Linked DNA regions of Homo sapiens: all the other regions are linked to region 2. Evidence: promoter capture Hi-C in 16 types of primary human blood cells and fetal thymus (Javierre and others, 2016). All regions are on one chromosome and are shown on one strand. The core of a region is centred on a gene start or on the middle of the fragment in contact, and the rest is flanking DNA. Distances in the headings are between cores, read along the strand shown. Region 1 has its middle 16 kb from the start of FIGNL1. Region 2 holds the start of UPP1 (uridine phosphorylase 1). Region 3 overlaps IKZF1 (IKAROS family zinc finger 1). Region 4 holds the start of FIGNL1 (fidgetin like 1). Region 5 overlaps GRB10 (growth factor receptor bound protein 10). Region 6 overlaps IKZF1 (IKAROS family zinc finger 1). Region 7 overlaps IKZF1 (IKAROS family zinc finger 1).

Region 1 (2,700 bases), core at 43-2,542, 2.3 Mb before region 2:
TAATATATCTATGGAGCACAGGAGTAGTTTAGTGTAATTTATCAACTGCAAGGGCTCTGAGTAGTTAGAAAAACAGGAATAATATGGTACAAAAACAAAGTAAATCCAGACTCAGAAATTCAGCCACTGCTCCCATTACTGAGCCCTATCATGAAGTTGGAACATATGATAATAACTAAATCAAAAAAAGGCAGCTACCATTTTGCCATGAAAATGACTTCAGTAGACATTTGTCTCATTAAAGAGAGGATACTCCCTCCTGTTTTCAGCAAATTACTGCTGAAATCCTTTGGACTGAATTAAACTAGGCAGACCTGGAACTGTCACAGATGTTGCCAAGACAATTATTGGAACTCCAAGAAAATGATAATTAACATATTACCTCTGAATAATGAGAACCACATATGAAATTTTAAACCTGGTAGCCATATTAAAATAGTAAAAGGAACCAGGTGAAATTAATATCCTATTTCAACATGTAATCAATATAAGAATTGTTTATGAGATACTTTATATAAATTTTTCTTCTTCGTATTGAGTCTTTGAAATCTGGTGTATATTTTGCATTTAAAGCACATCTCAGTTCCACCTCACCATAGTTCAAGCGCTCAGTCACATGAGACCAGAGGCCGCCACGTTGGACAGGGCAGATCTAGACCAGTATAGCATCCGTGACCATGTCTGTAATTAAGGCTGTTTCCCTTACAACTCTGTGCGGTATATCTGCAGGCAGCCTTTTGAACTGCAAAATAATTTAATTTTTATACCTTTAAGGTAAAAGTTGAGAATCTGGTGCTTCACAGAAACAGACTGGCTTCTGCTCCTTAAGAGCCTCACATCCTGTTACCCCAACATTGCCACAGATTTGGACACTGATCTTTAAAAACTCTTAGCCTTCATTGTTAGGCATTTTGCTGCAGTTCAGGCTCATTCCATTATCTAAACTCATGTGGTGCAAATCATACCATAAAATTATTTTCAGAGGAAAAGTTTAAAAAGTAATATTTTATTAATAGTTACAAATAATTTAGAAGTACTACATATTGAAGAGCAAAAGAACATAAGGCTATAAAAAAATAGAAAGCTTGGAATAGTGCTATTATTGATAGATGTTTTTATTGAAAAATGTCCCTGAAGTTGTTGATACTGAAGTTTGAAACTCACAAAATAATGTGTTTCTAACATTGCCTTTTAATTTACTGTTTGTGTTATGCCTGTTTAATACTTGAGGTAGATAGATGACTTTGTATTAATAAATGATCATCAGGTGTTTTACATGCTCACTTTCATTTAAATAAAAAATTAGTATTCAGTATTGCTAAAACATCTAACTAAACATATGTAACATGTGAATATACATATATTTAAATTTGTGTATATCATATAAATTAAGATCAAAACAAAACATATATATATGTATTTGTTTATGTCTAAAATGTAAGTGTAACTGTTAGTAAAATAGAAATAGGACATAGATCAGAAATAGGATATGAAGCTTCCAAATCATAAGAGAAAAAAACAAAGGAAACCCAATTCGTGAAATTGAGAAAAAAATGTTTAAAGGTGAAGAGAAACTAATAAAAGCTTAATAAAGAGAAAATTTTAAATAAGATGTCAGGAAAAAGAGGAAACATTTCAGGATTCATAACAAATGCAAAAACTTCCTTGATTAATAAGCATAGCCTCCTAAATTAGGTAAAAAGGCAAAGTTTAATTACATTATCTTTATAAAATGAAATAGAAATATTGAAAATAAGGGAATAGAAATATAAACAGGAAAGTGCCAACAAAGATCAGGAACAGGATTATTAATACCAGAAAAAAGAGGAATCAAGGTAAAAAGCAATAAACTCGATAAAGAAAAATATTTTATACTGTTAAGAAGTTTTTGCCTTTATATCCATCATAAACCTTTACACATTGAGCTAAAAGCATCCAAACAGAAAGAAAATACCAGTCACAGATGTTTACACATTGAGCTAAAAGCATAAAAATGTAAATTTAAAATTTAAAAATTATTAAAATACTAGCATAGCATTTGGAAATAGTGACATTACCCAGTGTTGGCAAATATTTGGAGAGTAGGATCCTGGCATCCACTGTTGTGGAATGTGGATAAACTTAGCCTTTTTGGAAAGGAATCTGGTAATATCCGCCAAAAGTGATTCCACTTCTAGGAATCTATACTACATAAATAAGTTCACTGAGACATTTTAATATGTAAAAAATAGATGGCTTAAATATCCATCAGTGGAAGATAGCTGAATCTGTTCTATGATCTGTGCAGTGGGTTTTAAAAATCAAGTCAATGTATGTGCACTGATAGGGCAAGAGCTCCAAGTTCTATAATTCAATGAAAAAAGCAAGGTGCGCATAGTCCATGTGCTTATATATGTAAGTAAAGGAATGTGAAAAAGCTCCAGAAGGGCATACAATGACAGTTAAGAGTGTTTACCTCTCTGGAGGTATATGTGTTGTGTGAGGGAGGAAGATTTCCATATTTGACTTCACTCACACACAATATGGTTGTTTTGCGTACAATGACTATCTACTCTTTTATAATTTAAAAAACTCAAATACTATTTTTAAAGTACTGAACATAGCTTTCTTAAATAATTAAACTTTTTTTTTTTCAACTGGCGCCATTAGGTTTGTTTGGAGAGGCAAGTGGTTAAGAATTGAAAATCCCTATTACGAATT
Region 2 (2,700 bases), core at 74-2,573:
GAATGGAACCAATGGTCTTTTTAACCAGAAGACCCCAGGAAGGCAGAAAATGAGCCAAAGAAAGGCCAGGCAGGGGACAGTGGGGAAAGGAAACAGGGATGGAGAAGCAGAGAGGGAAGTGCAGAGACAGGTCACCCAGGCGCCTGGAAACTGCCTCTATGGCCTTCACGGGAAACGGCCTCTTTCTACTCCGGATCCCAGACTGTGTTTCTTTGAAACTGACCGTCAGAGGAGAGCGGCTGGAGGCGGACAGACGTCTGCAGTGGGAGGCGCTCCAGGCGTTCCAGGCAGTGTCCTGCCGGCGAGTCACCCGCGACCGCGAGTCACCTCACCAAGCCCTGAATTGGGACAGGAGACGAGACGTGTCGACGAGCTGCGGAGTTCCTCGCTTCTCTGGGCCCTGCCAGGTCCAAGAACAGGTTGCCATATAAAAGAATCGTGAAGGGACCCCCTTCCCCATGCAAATTATGTCATATAACGCATATGCCTGTGAAGTTTCTCTGCGGAGCTGCCAGATAACTCGATGACAATATTTTATGCGGTAACATTTTGTTAAATGTTGACTCGATGGCCACTTGACGCCATCTGAACTCTGAAAGCTCGCGTAACAATCATCCTCCAAATGAAATTTTACCCCCTTCTCCCTTTAAAAGGCGGTGGGGACAAAACATCACTTCGTCACTTAAGTCACCATCTCCTTCCTCTTATCTGGGGCTCCCAGCATAGTTCTAGGGGTTCCCGCACTCCCCGCCCGGGTTTGGGCTGCGAGAAGCGCCCGCCTGCGCCCTGCGGGACCTGACCCTGCCGGCTCTGGCTTCACCCTCGCTGCGCCTCGGCCCGGTGGGCTCCCCGCCCAGAGCCCCGCGCGCTCCGTCGCCGGGACGTGGGAGAGGTAGGCACGGGGTGGACCCGAGGAAGCACATCCCGCCCGCGCGCTTCCCCCACGCCCACCTCGCTCCGCACACACCAGCCCCAGAACCTCCCGGCCGCGCGCCCGCCTCCCCGCGCAGCCGCGCCGGGCCGCTCTCTGCTCCTCTGCAGCTCACAGCCAAGGTGCACCAGAGCCTCCGTCACCGCCCCTACAGGTAAATGGGCACGTGGCCAAGGCAGGGGACGGGCTAGACCCCTGGGAAGAGAGAACGGCGGGAGCCGGGCCGCGGGCGACTCACCACTCGGCCTGCGCAGAGAGCCGCTACACCCGCGGCGCCATCCTCGCACTGCGACACCGGCGACAAACGCAATGCTCCAGGGCCGGACGAAGGGACGGCTCTCGGGAGGCTCGCAGACGGCGGGGCGCGGGTCTGTGCGCCGGAGCACTCGAATGAGGGAACCACCTGCGAGGTGAATCTCATATGGAGTCTGCGAGCGGCCCCGCCCTGCCCGGGGGTTACCGCTAGGCTCGGGCCCCGCCTGCCCTGGGCCGGCGAACTCAGCTGACCGCATCCTGGGCCATCCCGCAGACAAGCCCCGCCCGCCCCCACCTTCCTCTGCCCCTCTGGCCCCGCCTCCCCCGCCTTCCTCCTCTCCACCCTCCCGCGAAGGTCCCGGGAGGCTCAGCCCGCAATTGCTTCTCGCCTCTGCAGAGCAGCTGGGCAATTGTAAAGAACCAGCAGCCAGTTCTGTTACTCATTAAACAGCCCCTACTACAGAGGAAATCTTCTTACCCACGTGGTCCTAACCTGGGGCGGAGGAAACCGGGCTAGAAGCGGCTCTAGGACTAACCCAAGGTCACGCCGCCAGGCAGGATCCCCGGTCTGTCTGTCTGGCGGTGGCCCCGCGGCTGGGGCCAGCGGAGAGAAATGACAGCGTGGAACCAGCCCTGGCCCGGTGGTCGGGAATGTGGAGCTGGCACTGTCACTGTGTGTACCCTGGATCTCTCTGGACGGCCTCGGCTTCCCCCCTGGGGAGTTTCTCTGGGACCTTCCTGATCCTGGGAGTTCCCGCTTGCTGGGGCAAAGCCAGGAGCTCGCCCGAGGAGGGGAAGTGACTCATTCACTTCGAGTCGCAGCTAAGTGGCCGAACTGCCTCAAACCGGCGCTGCACTCTGACCCCCAGGGGCCGGACCTGCCTGCCCCCGGCCGGTGCCCACTCTCCGTCTCAGGCGTCTTTCCTGGTCCTCTCCCTGCTTCCCGAACGCGCACTCTGGTGAGAGCACAGAGCCTGGGAAAGAAGACGACCTAGAGGCCCGGGCAGCCCAGCACCTCTGTTACTTGCTTCCTAAAGGGAACTCCAGTTCCTGAGAAAACATGGGGTTGGGCCGGGAGTGGTGGCTCACGCCTGTAATCCCAGCACTTTGGAAGGCCGAGGCGGATGGATCACCTGAGGTCAGGAGTTCGAGACCAGCCTGCCCAACATGGTGAAACCCCGTCACTACTAAAAATACAAAAAATTAGCTGGACGTGGTGTCGCGTGCCTGTAATCCCAGGTACTAGGCAGGCCGAGGCAGGAGAATTGCTTGAACCCAGCGAAGGATGCAGTGAGCCGAGATCGCGCCATTGCACTCCATACTGGGTGACAAGAGTGAAACACACAAACAAATCAAGGAAGGAATTAAGGGTTTTATTGAAAATGAAAGTACGGCCAGGCGCAGTGGCTCACACCTGTAATCCCAGCACTTTGGGAGGCCGAGGCGGGTGGATTACAAAGTCAGGAGTTCAAGACCAGCCTAACCAAGATGGTGAAACCCCGTCTCTACTAAAA
Region 3 (2,700 bases), core at 156-2,655, 2.3 Mb before region 2:
GTGAGAGGAAAGGGCAAAGCAGTTTAGAAAAGAATTCCTGCAATCACTATTTACAGTTCTGGTTTGAGCTTTGTTTGAATTCCACTTGAAAAAATAACTCCCTTCAACCAACTGACTCAGGGGGATGGATGGAAAAGAACAGAGTAGGTGAAATTTGCAACAAACTGACTCTAAGAAGGCTCTCACCTTAGAGATATTAACTTGGATAAGGCGCATCTTTCTCTGTGATTGCATATTGAAGGAGTGCTGTCTAAAGCCCTTGATCCTCTGTCTCTCTTCCTTCACTCAGTGCATTGGTGCAGCAATTTTGTTTATTCCCGTTTCCAAATGCCACACCCTTCTGTGAGCAGAGAAATCCATGACTCAAGAATGGTATCTTTGTAAACTCCATCTTTTCAACAAAACTCAAATGTTTATGAGGAAATATATTTTTAAGACCGAAGGGGAATAATTGATTTATAGAATTTATAATGACTCCACATGAACACAAGTCAGCCTTGATACTGCTGACCGGGAATATTGGGAATATTCTTCAAGTGCTTTTCTATTTTTTTTCTTGGAGGGCTTCCCAGACATTTGATTGGTTTAGAATTCATTTGGGTCAGTGGTTCTCCCCCAGGAGTGATTTCTCCTCGCAGGGGACAGTTGGTGATGTCTGGAGAGTTTGGGTTGTCAATTCGGGGTGCTACTGGCGTCTATTGGGTAGCCACCAGGGATACTGCTAATTATCCTACAATGCACAGGAGAGCTCCCGCCTAACAAATAAGTAGTCAGCCCAAAATGTCATAGTGCTGAGACTAAGAACCCCTGTTTGGATTAAATGCTGAGGTACTTATGTACAATTTCCTCTCTGTTGCTTCATTTCACCTTGGGACAGTGTTGGTGAAGACAAGTACTGTAAATATTTGAAATGGTATATTCTTCATTGCCTAGGTGGTTGAGAGTAATGACCTTAATGATTGATAGCATTAATCTTGAAGGAGACCCTTGCTTGTTGGGATTAGAATCTCCACACACCTTCCTCGGGCTTCAGTGCCTCCATGTCATAGCACGGATGGGCGGGGTTCTCACCTGCAGTGCCATTTGCCTCCTCTTTCCTAGGGGATCTGGTGGCATTACTCTCCGAAGGTCTGGCTCAGTCCCTCAATTGCCCTGTGCATTCCAATATCCTACAGGTGCAGAGCCAGCCATCCTATGTATGTGTGGACACACATGCTGGCTTGCCTTTACAGTAAAGAGCTTCAACATGTTTGAAAGCTTGGTTTCAAACAGGTGAGCTCTGTGTGTTAGCAACAGAGATGCTGGGCTTCACATATTTCATTGAGTTGAAAATTAATGACTGTTCTAAATCACTCCTTTATGGGTTTTAAAACGAGAATAATATATAGTGAGGGTAGGTAAAGAAACTTACCAACACTGAGAAATTCAGGCTTGTGGCTACAAACAGATGTACATAATTAAAATGAGGGCTAGGATTGGATTTCTTCAGGAAAAGAGGCCTCTGGTACTAGATGGAACCAGCCAGGGAAGGAAGAGATTTGAAATAAAGCTTTGGTTTCTGAGGAATGTTGCCGTTTGAGAGATTCAAAAAGAAAGAAGATCCAAATTTCGGGACTGGTGTTTAAATTGTAGTGACAGATTTTGGGGGCCATTAAAGGTATGGGAGTGAAAAAGCGGGGAACAGGGCTCCCCAGATATGCCCACGGGAAGACAGTCTCCTCCTACGGGGCAGCAAGCCTCGGGAGGCTCAGGCCATCTGAGCAGCCTCCGCAAAGCCAGTGAATCCAGGACGATCCCAAAGGCTCTAGCCCGGCGTCTCCCTCCACCCAGGGCAGTCTGACAGACACGACTTTCCCCAACCAATTCATTTTCCTACGCAGAATATGACTTGAAATAGTATTTTCTCTCACAAGTGCAGCCTCTCCGCCCTAGATGCATGTAGCTCGAAGCTGGCCTGGGCACAGGTTGTTGGCCCTGCTGTGTCTTGGCACTTGGGTGGCGGCACACCTGTCCTGTCTGCTCACCTGCAGACCCACACAGCAGGGGCTGTGCTCTCTGCTTCTGGGGACTGGAAAAAGACACCTGGTGCGCGAACCCCGTGCTTAGCACAGGGTAGAGCACGCTCCTTCCCAGGCTGTGGCGTGTTTTATCTATTTCTCTCTGAAAATTTAGACTAATCGTTTGGAGAAGGGGATTCTAGGAAGCGACAGGTGAGGGAATCTCAGCCAGCGGTCTGGGGAAACATCTAGGAAGGTAGCAGTTCTGGATGCTCCCAATGCAGCCCTGCCTCTAAAAATAAAAATCTTTTCAAAAGCAAATCAAACCCCAATCAACCAACTCAAACAAAAAACAAAAAACAGTTACAAATCCAAACACAACATTGTCTGGTCCAGTCCAGTCTATGCTGCTGGCGGGAGCGAGAAGGCGGCAGTCCTTGTGCTTTTCCTGGGGTGGCTCGGGGTCTGGGGTGGGGGCGCGGGAGGGCTTTAGCTCATGTGGAAGCGGTGCTCCCCTCGCGTTATGTGCGACGAGAACTCGTACCGGTCCTGGCTGTGGTAGCCGCACATGTTGCACTCAAAAGGATCACGGAAGCCGTGGCAGCCCATGTGGATGGTGTACATGACGTGATCCAGGAAGAGCACCCGGCAGTGTTCGCACTTGTACACCTTCATCTGCTCCCCGCTGGTGCTGACCACGCGG
Region 4 (2,700 bases), core at 142-2,641, 2.4 Mb before region 2:
TGTGCCTTGCATTTCTTTAAATCTTATGTTTAAACATCATGTGCTGCTAGTTGCTAGTCATTTTCTCTATCCCCTGCCCCAGACCCTCTCTTTCTCAGGAAAGGATATCCAGGGATCCGGGTCCCAGTTAGTCAAGGAGATATAAGAGGAAGGCTATGAGGCTTTCTGGGAAACATTTTCTTTTTCCAAGAGAGAAGTGTTCAGAGGGAAAAGGTCCTTTCTCAGTTTGGCTCCCTCTTTGTGTTTTAGATCTGGTCATGTGAGGCTGCCTGGCTTGGATTGTGAGGGCATCTCTCGACAATGAAGTGACAAGCCTGGGGAGGAAAATCCACAGGCGAGAAGGTGGCAGAATGGAGAGATGGTCCTTCATGACTTCTTTGAGTCACCAGGTCCAGATTTCCCGCCAACCTCCAGTCTTCTTGTTATGTGATCTGATATCATTATTTACTGCAGAGGCCACTGAGTGGATGCTCTTACTTGTGTCTGAAAATCCAATTCACTAAATTAATCAAAATACGGCACTCTTCTTTTGAAACCTTGCTCCAGAACAAAGTGGAAGGTAATGATGGGGTGCTTTTCAAAGTTCCAGGGAGGTGTCCCTACACAGCAGACAGCTGTCCAAAGGAATGTAGATGTTGGCTGCGGGGAGATCTGAGTTGCCAGACTCAGTCAGAACAGGTGTCCTCTCCCTTATTTTATCTTAAACATGCATGTCATTTTTGCATGCTACTCTATGCGGTTCTTTCAGCCAGGGAACATTGCTGAGCACCCGCTCACGTGCTGTATGGAGCGCAGACTGCAGGGTGCGAGGGGCGGAGGTGATGTGCTAGGCCTGAATTCAAGAGGGGGCGCAGCCACAGGCCCCGCGATGCCGGGGTGGCCTCTTGTAACGACGTTTTAACCGCTGACCTAAGTGGATCCGCTCCTCTCCCGCCGCCCGCTCCCTGCCTGCAGCACAGGATGGCGGCTGGCTTTCCCGAGTGGGCGCAGGTGAGCCACGCTTGCTCTCCCGGGTGGGCGCAGGTGAGCCATTGTTTGCTCTCCCGGGTGGGCGCAGGAGAGCCACGCTTTGCTCTCCCAGGTGAGCCGCCGCTCGCTGTCCCGGTGAGGGGAAGTGAGCCACGCTCTATGGGAATCCTTCGAATCTTCATTCAATTTCCATCGCCTCCTTGTATTTATTTGGGAGTACTTTTAAAAATGAAGCCTATGCACAATGATGTAATAAGCGTTTATAGAACACCACTGGTCGGAGCTAGGGCCTAGGTGGCGGTGCCCGGGCCCAGGTGCCGCGCCCACGCCCCGCGCGCCGAACGCACGCACGCACGCACTCACGCACTCACGCACGCACGTACGGCGCGAGTCCGAGGGCGACAGCAGCGCGCAGGCGCACGTCAGTCCCCGCGCTTTTCGGAGGCTGCCAGCGTCCCACACCAGCCGCAGGTAGGATGCGGTGACGGGAGGCGGGGCAGGGGCGCTGCTGACCCCTGTGGAGCATCAGGGTTGGGGCGTAGGGGAGAGGCGGGCGTGTGCCTCTGGAATGCTGGGGGTCGCGGGGCGGTGACTTCGCGGGAGGCCGTGGGAGGCGGGAGCCAGGCAGTGGCTGTGCCCTTTTGCTTCTGTCTTAGCGGGAGGGTGGCTGACCCGCTAGCCCAGAACCAGACTCATCCAGGATTAGGAAGCTGGGGCCCGGCGTGGACGGCAGGCTCGGGGCCAGGTCTGCGGGCGGCTTCCTTTGGCAGAGCCTGTCCGGGGGCGGGGCCGCTTACCGCAGGCATTTACTGGGCCCAGCGGGGCTCTGGGCGCCCACAGCGGGGGTCAGTCAGTTCCCCTGTGACCCAGGCAAGCTCTTAATCTCTGTGATGAGAAAGAAGGGCTCATACCTTTCAGGGGTCATCGTGAGGAATCAGAAGAAGCAGTATTTTATAGAGTATTTTCTAAGTGCTGAGTCCTCTGTCTAGTGCTTTGCAGAATTAAAATACCTTGTCAGCTCAGTGATGTTGCTGCGCTTCTTTTATAGGTGAAAACCGGCAGAAAGACATTAAGAGATTTTCCTGCAGTCACTGCTGGCAGATGATAGAGCCAGGATTTGAAAGCAGGCAGCCTGGCTCCAGACCCTGTGCTCTTAACTCCCGTTTTGCATCAAGAACAGAATCCTATGAAAGGCTTGCACAGTGCTTGGTACTGAGTAGGCACTCCGTCAGTATTTTAGTAGCTATTATTCCAAAGGACACTGTATTCTAGGTACTAAGACAATGTGAATGGAATGGAAAACAATTCCTCCCTGCAGAAGCCAACTGTCTAGGAAGACAGATAATGACATTATTAAAATAATCAGAACATTGGCAAAATAAAGAAGATTGAAATGCAGTTCATATGACAGTGCTAATTAATCATACTTTTTAGATCTAGGAAAGGCCATAAAGGTTAAATTGACTTGGAAATGGTAAACAAGACAATGGTTGTGTCACTGATCGGTGATGGCCAGTTTTTGGTTATCCTTATTTGCCATTTAAATGATTGAATTGAAAGGAAGAAGTAAGACTTGGAAGATGAATATTGAAGGAAAGGTGAAGATGGAAAAGAGAAGGGGGTTTATTCTGAGAACAGTGACTAGAACTCTGAGGTATGGTAGAAATTTCAGGATAACAGATGATAAAGGGGAATGAAGCCATGGAGAGGAAGAGAATGATAATATTAATT
Region 5 (2,700 bases), core at 105-2,604, 2.7 Mb before region 2:
TTATAAATATTTGCAAATGCCTGTTTTTCATAAATATCAATTAATGCCTTCTCATTACTCATTCCAATTTTATTTCTTTGTCCTACATAATAGACCAACATCTGCAACAACTAGTTTTCCTCGTTTTCTCCTTGAGACTCTCATAGTGTTTGTTTTTAATGTAAACTTTTTATTGAAGTGTAAACTTTTTATTAAACTTGCTTCTAATTTTAGCTCTTTGTATTTTGATACTTTGCTGTTTGGAGGATAATACTGTTTTTATTCATTATCAATTATGCTTTTATCAATGCTTTTTAGTATTTGGATTATTGTTTCTTTGCTTTAAGTGACACTTGACTATCATTGCTACCATTGCTTTTATTTTGTTTGCATTGTGTTTGGTTTTTATATCTGTCCATTCTGTCTTTTTCTTTTCTAGCTCCCTTTTTAAAGCTTTTCTATTTGCCTTGGGTATTTTTTTTTTTCATTAGAATGGTTTTGAATATTATTTTGAAAAGGAGAATTGGATGACTGACATTTACTGCTATGTCTTCTCTCTTCTGTTGCAAATTGTTTGGGTTTCGAATGAATGTGTCTTCATCTATTTTCCCTTTGATGTTTAAAGAATTATGAGTTTCTTTTAATGTTTTTATTATGGCTTAGAATGTAAATATTGTTTTCCATTCTACATGTGATTATTTTAATATACCGTGAACATTGCTCAATTATATTTTTCTTAATAAAGAGTAGGATCTTCTGGCTTTTATGGAAGGTACAGCTTTTAAAAAAACAATTCTATGATGATTTAAGACTCAAAACGTCTTTCTAAAATTTTAAATTTTGAATTGAATTTTATTATTTAACCCAATCATCATTAATTGTACAACTTACCCTTATTAGTCAGCAGATCTTTCTTGGGTCCCTGTTACTATCTGCTGTTCTGGGTATGGCAGGGAACAAGACTGAGTTCTTGAACAAGATGGGGTTTGTGACTGTCTCAAAAGTGAAGCTGTCAGGAAGTGGTTGTTGCCATGGAGAAGATACACCAGGGCGATGAGCTAGAATGGTGTGCCACTTGAATGGGTCAGGTGTGGCAGACATGCGACTGTCATCTGAGTGACTGGCAAGTGGGGGCCAGTGTTCTGGGGGAGAGAGGAGAAATTCTGAAACACACGTTCAATGTAGATTTCCTAAGGAATGCAGTAAAATGTTCTAGTACTGTTAAATGCACATTTTGGATTTGTGGCTAAATAACAAAAGAAAGGATTCATGTGGCACAGTCACATGACTTTCCCTCCAGCCTCACACAGTTTCCGGGCTGGCTAGGTTCCTTTAAGCAGATGAGCTGTGTTTTCAAAGAGCGGGAGTCACAGGAAGAGGTGGCATAAGAGCTGTGGTGTTTGCTGGGAATGTTTCTGGCTCTCCTGAGTCAGGGAGGAGAGAAATGAGGACTGAGGGGTGAAGAGGGAATAGAAAGAGAAAGGCCAGTGGGCCAGCCTCTCTGTGCCCTGGACAGCACTTGGATGTGAAGGGGCAGGCATGGGAGGGGACGTGAGGGAGCGGGCCCTCCAACTGAAGTTGGTGACCCCGATGTTGACCACAAGCCCAAACACAGCCCTGCCCTATTTTCAAACTGTAGGTTTCAACCTGTTACCGGGTCTTGAAATCAAGTTAGTAGGTCATGAAAAGCGTTTTTAATAAATACAGTAGAACAGAAAAGGAAATATGAGAGTGGATTGCATGGGTTCTTAGCATGCACTTAGTACGTTGCCATGTGTGATGAGCCACATGCCATGCGGGATAGACAAGGTGAGCATGGATTGGTCACGGATGTGTCATTTGGTCATCTGCTTACTGGCATTGGGTTAGAAGATGTCTATTTGACTATCTTTTCAGAAGGGAGGGTAAACGCTCTACAGTTTAAATCCACCATAAACATAATTTGCAATTAGCTGCGAGGTGAGGGCCTAAGAGTATCATCTACAGTCTGCTAGACTCTAGAGTTTCAGTTAGGAACACCCAATGTACTTTTCAGAAAAAGTGTTATTGGGTGCAACATTTTTGAAGTTTATGACAGTTGTATCATTTTAATTTAACTAGTACAAGTTGCCCTAACATGGAAAAACAAAAAACAACCCATATAATCGGAAACACAAAGACGTTCAACTTCAGCTGCTGGATCCAGAAGTGTAAATATTGGCATTGTTAAGAAAAATGTTGACTTTAGAATGAGTAAACTTTTGACTCTGCTTGAACGATTTTTCTGAACTATAGTCCAATAAAGAAGTTTAAGCTTTATCATGAAGATTATTTAAATTTTCATTAATTAAAATAAACAAATTTTAATATATTATTTATAATGATAATCTTGCAAAGGAGGGTTTAACCTTCGACATTAAAAGAACAATGTGAAACCACCACAGCAAGCCAAACTTGTTAGTAGGCCCTTTTAATCAAGGGAAGCAAAAAGACAACAGATATTGATACAATTTCTTAATCATCTGACAACGGTTAATGAGAAAGTCTTTAGTTATTATAGACAGAAAGCTGCTATCTATCTACTGGCTTATAAAACTATTCCTCATTATCTGTGAATATGAATCACATATTTTGATAAATCAGCTGATGATTTAGAATCTGAACTCTTTAAAGTAGCACAGTAGATGATCCAGTTGTATAACTGTAGGATGTTCAGAAGTGAGCTTTTTATCTGGGCATGGT
Region 6 (2,700 bases), core at 116-2,615, 2.3 Mb before region 2:
ATTTTAACTGAACCAGATGTTCAAACCAGGCAGAACTGCCACTGCACCCGGCCCTAAATTTTTTTGCATTTTTAGTAGAGATGAGGTTTCACCTTGTGGTCCAGGCTAGTCTCGAACTCCTGACCTCAAGTGATCCTCCTGCCTCGGCCTCCCAAAGTGCTGGGATTACAGGCGTGAGCCACAAACCAGGCAGAATTGCTTGTGGGATGAGGAGATAGATTATTCTGTATTTCATTTCTATCTTTTACCTTTTTTTTCTTTCTGCCAAGCTGCCTCCATCTTTTCTTACACCAGAAGGCAAATTCTTTGGCCCCATGAATCTCATTCTTCTGGTTCACCCCTCTGCCTAGCAGAGTGCCTGGGCCACAACAGACATTTAACATGCATCTGTCTCATTAGCTGATTCTCCAAAGACGGCTCAATTTCCACCTCCCGGGGATCCCATGTGTTCTGGAGTGCTGACACCACTCAAAACCTGAGCTCCAAACCTAGAGTGTGGTGCAAGGCTTCCCTTTAGGTCTCTGCAGTTTGTTTAGCTCCACAACGGAACTAGGTCTTATGTACCTCTGATTTGCCATGATCTCTAGTCCAATATCTTGTAACTGATTCAGTTTGTGCTTTGGAGACAATATGATTCTGAGTAATATGTTAATAAGCCTGCAGATTTCTTTATAGTTTTTAAGACTAAATAGGATAAAACAAATCCATAGTATATACCCATGAATATTTTAGTAAGGTGGTAATTCACTGTGGGATGTACTAATAATTTCTGAGATCCCTGGATGCCGTCAATTCAGATTATTTATACCCTATGGGCTGGGAGAAGACCAGAGGGTGTGACCTTCACAGACTCCAGACTTCTAAGAATATTTTAATTATATAGCAAAGCTTAAAATATTCATTCCTCTTATTTTTCCCATCTATTAGGTTGGTGCAAAAGTAACCGTGGTTTTTGCTATTACTTTTAATGGCAAAAATCGCAGTTACTTTTGCACCAACCTAATATATTTGATTTAAATTTTTAGATGATACATTTTATTTTTTCCCCTCATCTGTGTAAGCACTGCTCCTTTCCCTTTTAAGTATTTTCATCTCTTACTTAAAATGTTGCTTCTTGACTTTCAATTCCAACTAAGATGATTTTCTATTTCTATAGCCTATCTCTTAAAAAGGTATCATCACAATACACTGAATTTAGTGTTTCTGTTAGTCAAGATGTCAATTACTTTTCTACTTTTAACACTGCATTGTGTTATGTGATCGTGAAGCAATTCAAGTAGATGTAGTACCTGCCTGCAAGGAACTTGCAATCTACCTGCACATGAGGTACAAAATAACGGGAGTATAACAGCTTATACATGATTGTACTTTTAGCACTGATGCAGAGGAGTGGAATAATTCTAGATGTGCTCAGATGAACTTAGGCAAATAGTTTGGAAGTTGTAAAATGTGTTTCCCAAAGCACAAAAAATAGAGAGGCAAAATGTGGATGACTTGCCCTGTGGGTTGGGGATGTGTGAAGAGAAGGAACCTGGCTTAGAAACACTGCTGATTGACTTCATAAAGGAGTCATTGGAAGGGACAAAGAAGTAAAGGAAGACAACATCAGCGGATGTGGCCTGGGTCATCTACATGTGAGGACAGTCACACACTAGACACAAGGCAAAAGGTGTGTCTTTTCTGACCTGGTCATGCAGATTAATGAGTTTTTGAAATACCACTTTACATGTCATATACTTAGGAAAAAATATGATTTCATTCAATGTATTTTGCAGATGAAGAAAGAGGAGGTAGGCCTGCCCCACACATCCCGATTCTGGTAAGGCAGAGAACTGAAGCTTAAACCCAGGACTTCTGCTTCAAAATCTTTTACAACAAGCTGGGCTCACCTTCTGGAGGATTTTTTGGGGGTTTGGGGAAAAAGAGGTGGGTAAATTTATAAGTCAGCTCAGAAAGCAATTCTCACGACTTCACAATTAAGCCTTATTTGTGAACAAAAAAACAGCATTCCTCAGGTTAAGTTAGCACTTTATTCAAAGGTCTAGGCTCTAAAAGGATTTTGGACTATTTCTAAAAGGAAAATAAAACCCAGACTCAAATATACAAAAGCAAGTGCTTGGGTCTCTGAAGGTAATCAAAACAGGGAGATGCAAAATAAATGTGAGTGATGAAAAAAATGCGGATTCTCAACGTTAGGTCTTCCAGGCATGTGTGCTGGTGCATTAGGCCTTCAGCCCATCACTGCTGCACTGTATTACACTCTAGGTACACTCAGTTAAAGACATGAAATGACCATAGCTAGAGACAGTAACATTGTAACCACAGCGTGTCTTCTCCTGGCACAAGCCTCTTGTACAAAGAAGTAGTTCTCCTTGTCCACAAATCTCAAACCAGGAAATCCCTAATTCATTTAATGATCAGGAAAATGCAAGAGATTTGTGTAGTTGTGACTCTTCCAGTTACTCCCCGCTGTACCATTATTTTAGGTTACCTATCACACAGGATGGTGTGCCTGATGGCACTGGCAGTCATTTCTCTATGTCTTGTAGAAAAGTTTACTCCTGGGAAAAACAATTTGGTCACTAGTCCTTGGACCTAAGTAACAGAATCTTGATGAAATGGTACCCATGATCAAATGTTAAAAGGAAGAAAGGGATGGAGAAAAGAAGAGAGGAAGGAAGGAAGGAGGAAAGGGAAAGA
Region 7 (2,700 bases), core at 54-2,553, 2.3 Mb before region 2:
AAGTTTGCAGAAGAAGGCAAGTGGAAATATGCCCAGGGCCCTGGTCTGGGGGCTCCACCAGGGCTTGATCCTCGTCATTCTGCCCATTCTTCCCTCCATGCCTGGAACATGCACACCCAAACCCAAATCCCATCTTTTCCCCCAGACCCAGCTCTCCTATGTAGCCCATGCATGTTGATGGTGCTTCATCTGGATTCCATACATTCCAACCCACAGGGGGCTCGCCTCTACCCTTGCCTCTCATGGCCAAATTATGTCTGAGGTCTTTGGAGAGGTCTCCATTCTTATTGTTTTCCAACCACGTCACATCCCAGCATGGCCATGAAGCCCCTGCCTTTGCCCAGCCAAGGCAGCCCAGCCTGCACCACATCCTGCCTGTGTTTCCTGTCCACCGTCTGGCATGTGAGTTTGTTTGCTTGCATCATGGGGACCTTGCTTTCAGGCACCCCTCTCAATCAACCTGCTCATTGCCCTAAGATTATCATCCTCAACCTGCTCTTATCCGGTCACAACTGCTTCCAAGCTTTCCATGGGTCTGCACTGTTACGATGAGAAAAAAATCCTCCAGTCCTGTGTCAAAATCTCCCTACAACTGGTGAGCAATGAATAAACTTCTCAGCAGGTAATATTATTCAGATAAGCAATAGTAAGGGTGAACCTTATGGAAAAATGCTTTAAAACAAAAAAGAGAGCCCTGTAGCTCATGTTTTAGTAGAAAGCCACACGCAGATAAAGATAACATCTACCTTCTTGTCAACAAAGACCTCAAGACCCATAGGATTAGCTACAACCAACCAACATTCACCATGTTTCCCAGATGGGAAAAACAATAGGGCTAGTGCTTTGCAAGTCCACTGAAGGTGAAAAAGAAGGCAGGAAAACGCCTTCAGTGCCTGCAAACCGTGAGTCTGTACAGTCTTCCCTTCAGCTCCAAATGCCCCTGGCAGACACTTACTCTATCTGGCAATGGGGTTGAGTGGACCTTCCGAAGCGCCTCACTTACCCTCATGGTGTTTCAGGGATGAGTGTCAGGTCGAGGGACAGTTTTGGTTGCTTCAAATGGGACATGTCAGTGATGGCCAAAGTCACTATGCTTTACTTCAAATCCCAGCTGTTGGAGCTACCTTCCAGAGCAGATGATTTGGAGAACTTGACAGAAGATTAGGAAAAACCAATGTCTGGCCCTTTCTCTCTTCATGTAGTACAACTAGGCACCAGTCCTATTTTTGTTTTTGTTTTATTAACACAATTTTAATTGTTCACAGTGAACTAATTAAGATAGAAAAAGCTCCAATTAATACACCTATGGCTTAGAAAGGGAGAAATGGGTACTTCTAAAGAGTACAAGAAAGGAAACAGCAGGTTCAAAATGATGGTTCTTTTATGGGATTAGCTTTTTTTTTCTTTTTTGAGATGGAGTCTTGCTCTGTCACCAGGCTGGAGTGCAGTGGCATGATCTTGGCTCACTGCAACCTCCTCCTCCCGGGTTCAAGTGATTCTCCTGCCTCAGCCTCCCGGGTAGCTGGGACTACAGGCGCGCACCACCATGCCCAGCTAATATTTGTACTTTTGGTAGAGATGGGGTTTCACCATGTTGGTCAGGATGGTCTCGATCTCTTGACCTTGTGATCAGCCCACCTCGGCCTCCCAAAGTGCTGGGATTACAGGCGTGAGCCACTGTGCCTGGCCAGGATTAGCTTTTAAATGATTGTTTTGGTGCCATGTGCAATCTTCCTGGATCCTGAGGTTGGAGCATTTCCTCAGCTGCCCTGCTAGGCCTGTTTCATGTCAGCCAACTTCCGGGTCCAGGATCTCCATATAACAATTTAGGGGAAAACATTCAACAGGTTGAAGAACAGGCTTAGGGATATTTTCCCAGTGTTGTAACCTTCTTGCTTACTCTTTTTTGGAAGAAATACTACTTTTTTGTAAAAATGATATTTGCTGATTCTAAAGACACTGAGTAGACAGAAGCACTATGATGGCACCTCTAGAAATTACCCCCAAGTTTTATAATTTAAGGAGAATCATATGCAAAGAAGAAAATGCAAAAATGATAATGAGAACGGGGTAAGAAAGCTTGGTTCATGCTTTAAAAGGAGAAGGGAAAGGGACATTCAGGCAATCAAGAAAGGCTGAAGAAAACTAAGAGGGCTGGAGGAACAATGATTAGATAGGAAGGCTCTTGTCAGGGATCGTGGCAGGGGTGAAGAGTGTGAGGTCCTCAATATAAGTGAAAAATGAAATTTAATTTTGTCATTCCAAATTTTATTCTAATAAGGGAGATTTGTGCTGGATCACTGGGCCAAAATGATAAGGAAGGGAAATGCTACAAAATAACTGGGCTGCCCATAAGAGTGTGGGTCACACGGCGGGCAGGAGGGGCTTGGGGTGTGTGCATGGAGAGCCACCTTTCCATATCTAGGCCCTGTCAGGACATGCTGGGGCAGCGCCGGGCAGAGCCACATGGTGATGACTGGCTGTGTTCCCTGCCACATGGAGAGGAGAGGCACAGCAGGCAGTGCGGAAGGGACGACATGGGGCTGCGGAGCTCGGCAGTCGTCAGAGTGTCTGCAGCGTGGGCCACAAGGCAAGAGCCTTTGATCAACTGTTTAGCATGTGCTCTAGCTGATGTAACTGCACACGTGTTTTAGATGTGGTTTTCCCAGTAGCACACTCTTACAGAAGCAACAGGTTAAA

Evidence for each region. The method cuts DNA at HindIII sites, captures the fragments that hold promoters and counts their contacts. A CHiCAGO score of 5 or more calls a contact.
Region 1: a fragment that was not itself captured here is called in contact with the fragment with the promoter of UPP1 in region 2 in 1 of 17 cell types (total CD8 T cells); the score reaches 5.8 in total CD8 T cells.
Region 3: a fragment that was not itself captured here is called in contact with the fragment with the promoter of UPP1 in region 2 in 1 of 17 cell types (activated CD4 T cells); the score reaches 6.0 in activated CD4 T cells.
Region 4: the fragment with the promoter of FIGNL1 here is called in contact with the fragment with the promoter of UPP1 in region 2 in 5 of 17 cell types (naive CD8 T cells, non-activated CD4 T cells, activated CD4 T cells and 2 more); the score reaches 10.6 in naive CD8 T cells.
Region 5: a fragment that was not itself captured here is called in contact with the fragment with the promoter of UPP1 in region 2 in 1 of 17 cell types (naive CD4 T cells); the score reaches 9.6 in naive CD4 T cells.
Region 6: a contact is called between a fragment that was not itself captured here and the fragment with the promoter of UPP1 in region 2, in 3 of 17 cell types (total CD8 T cells, naive CD8 T cells and activated CD4 T cells). The highest score is 8.3, in total CD8 T cells.
Region 7: a fragment that was not itself captured here is called in contact with the fragment with the promoter of UPP1 in region 2 in 2 of 17 cell types (naive CD8 T cells and non-activated CD4 T cells); the score reaches 6.3 in naive CD8 T cells.

What each region holds. Positions count from the first base shown.
Region 1 is chr7:50,432,543-50,435,242 of GRCh38, reverse strand. No RefSeq gene overlaps it. Among named protein-coding and RNA genes, the nearest start is that of FIGNL1, 16 kb to the left of the region's middle. The HindIII fragment of the contact is 411 bases long and covers 1,087-1,497 here.
Region 2 is chr7:48,087,888-48,090,587 of GRCh38, reverse strand. It overlaps UPP1 (uridine phosphorylase 1), which reads right to left and starts at 1,323. Exons shown (of 9, transcript NM_003364.4): 1 at 1,170-1,323; 2 at 224-400. RefSeq lists silencers at 759-948, 1,289-1,628 and enhancers at 729-1,258, 1,769-1,978, 1,791-2,320. The HindIII fragment of the contact is 3,480 bases long and covers 1-2,700 here.
Region 3 is chr7:50,400,414-50,403,113 of GRCh38, reverse strand. IKZF1 (IKAROS family zinc finger 1) reads right to left here. Exons shown (of 8, transcript NM_006060.6): 8 at 1-2,700. The coding sequence ends at 2,487. Among named protein-coding and RNA genes, the nearest start is that of FIGNL1, 49 kb to the left of the region's middle. The HindIII fragment of the contact is 292 bases long and covers 1,260-1,551 here.
Region 4 is chr7:50,449,041-50,451,740 of GRCh38, reverse strand. It overlaps FIGNL1 (fidgetin like 1), which reads left to right and starts at 1,391. Exons shown (of 4, transcript NM_001287492.4): 1 at 1,391-1,440; 2 at 2,018-2,623. RefSeq lists silencers at 1,245-1,434, 1,576-1,870. The HindIII fragment of the contact is 8,767 bases long and covers 1-2,700 here.
Region 5 is chr7:50,738,593-50,741,292 of GRCh38, reverse strand. The region is part of intron 3 of GRB10 (growth factor receptor bound protein 10); the gene reads left to right. Among named protein-coding and RNA genes, the nearest start is that of GRB10, 43 kb to the left of the region's middle. The HindIII fragment of the contact is 1,840 bases long and covers 435-2,274 here.
Region 6 is chr7:50,343,249-50,345,948 of GRCh38, reverse strand. All of the region lies in intron 3 of IKZF1 (IKAROS family zinc finger 1), which reads right to left. Among named protein-coding and RNA genes, the nearest start is that of IKZF1, 40 kb to the right of the region's middle. The HindIII fragment of the contact is 950 bases long and covers 891-1,840 here.
Region 7 is chr7:50,360,585-50,363,284 of GRCh38, reverse strand. All of the region lies in intron 3 of IKZF1 (IKAROS family zinc finger 1), which reads right to left. Among named protein-coding and RNA genes, the nearest start is that of IKZF1, 57 kb to the right of the region's middle. RefSeq lists enhancers at 1,997-2,514, 2,515-2,700. The HindIII fragment of the contact is 1,556 bases long and covers 526-2,081 here.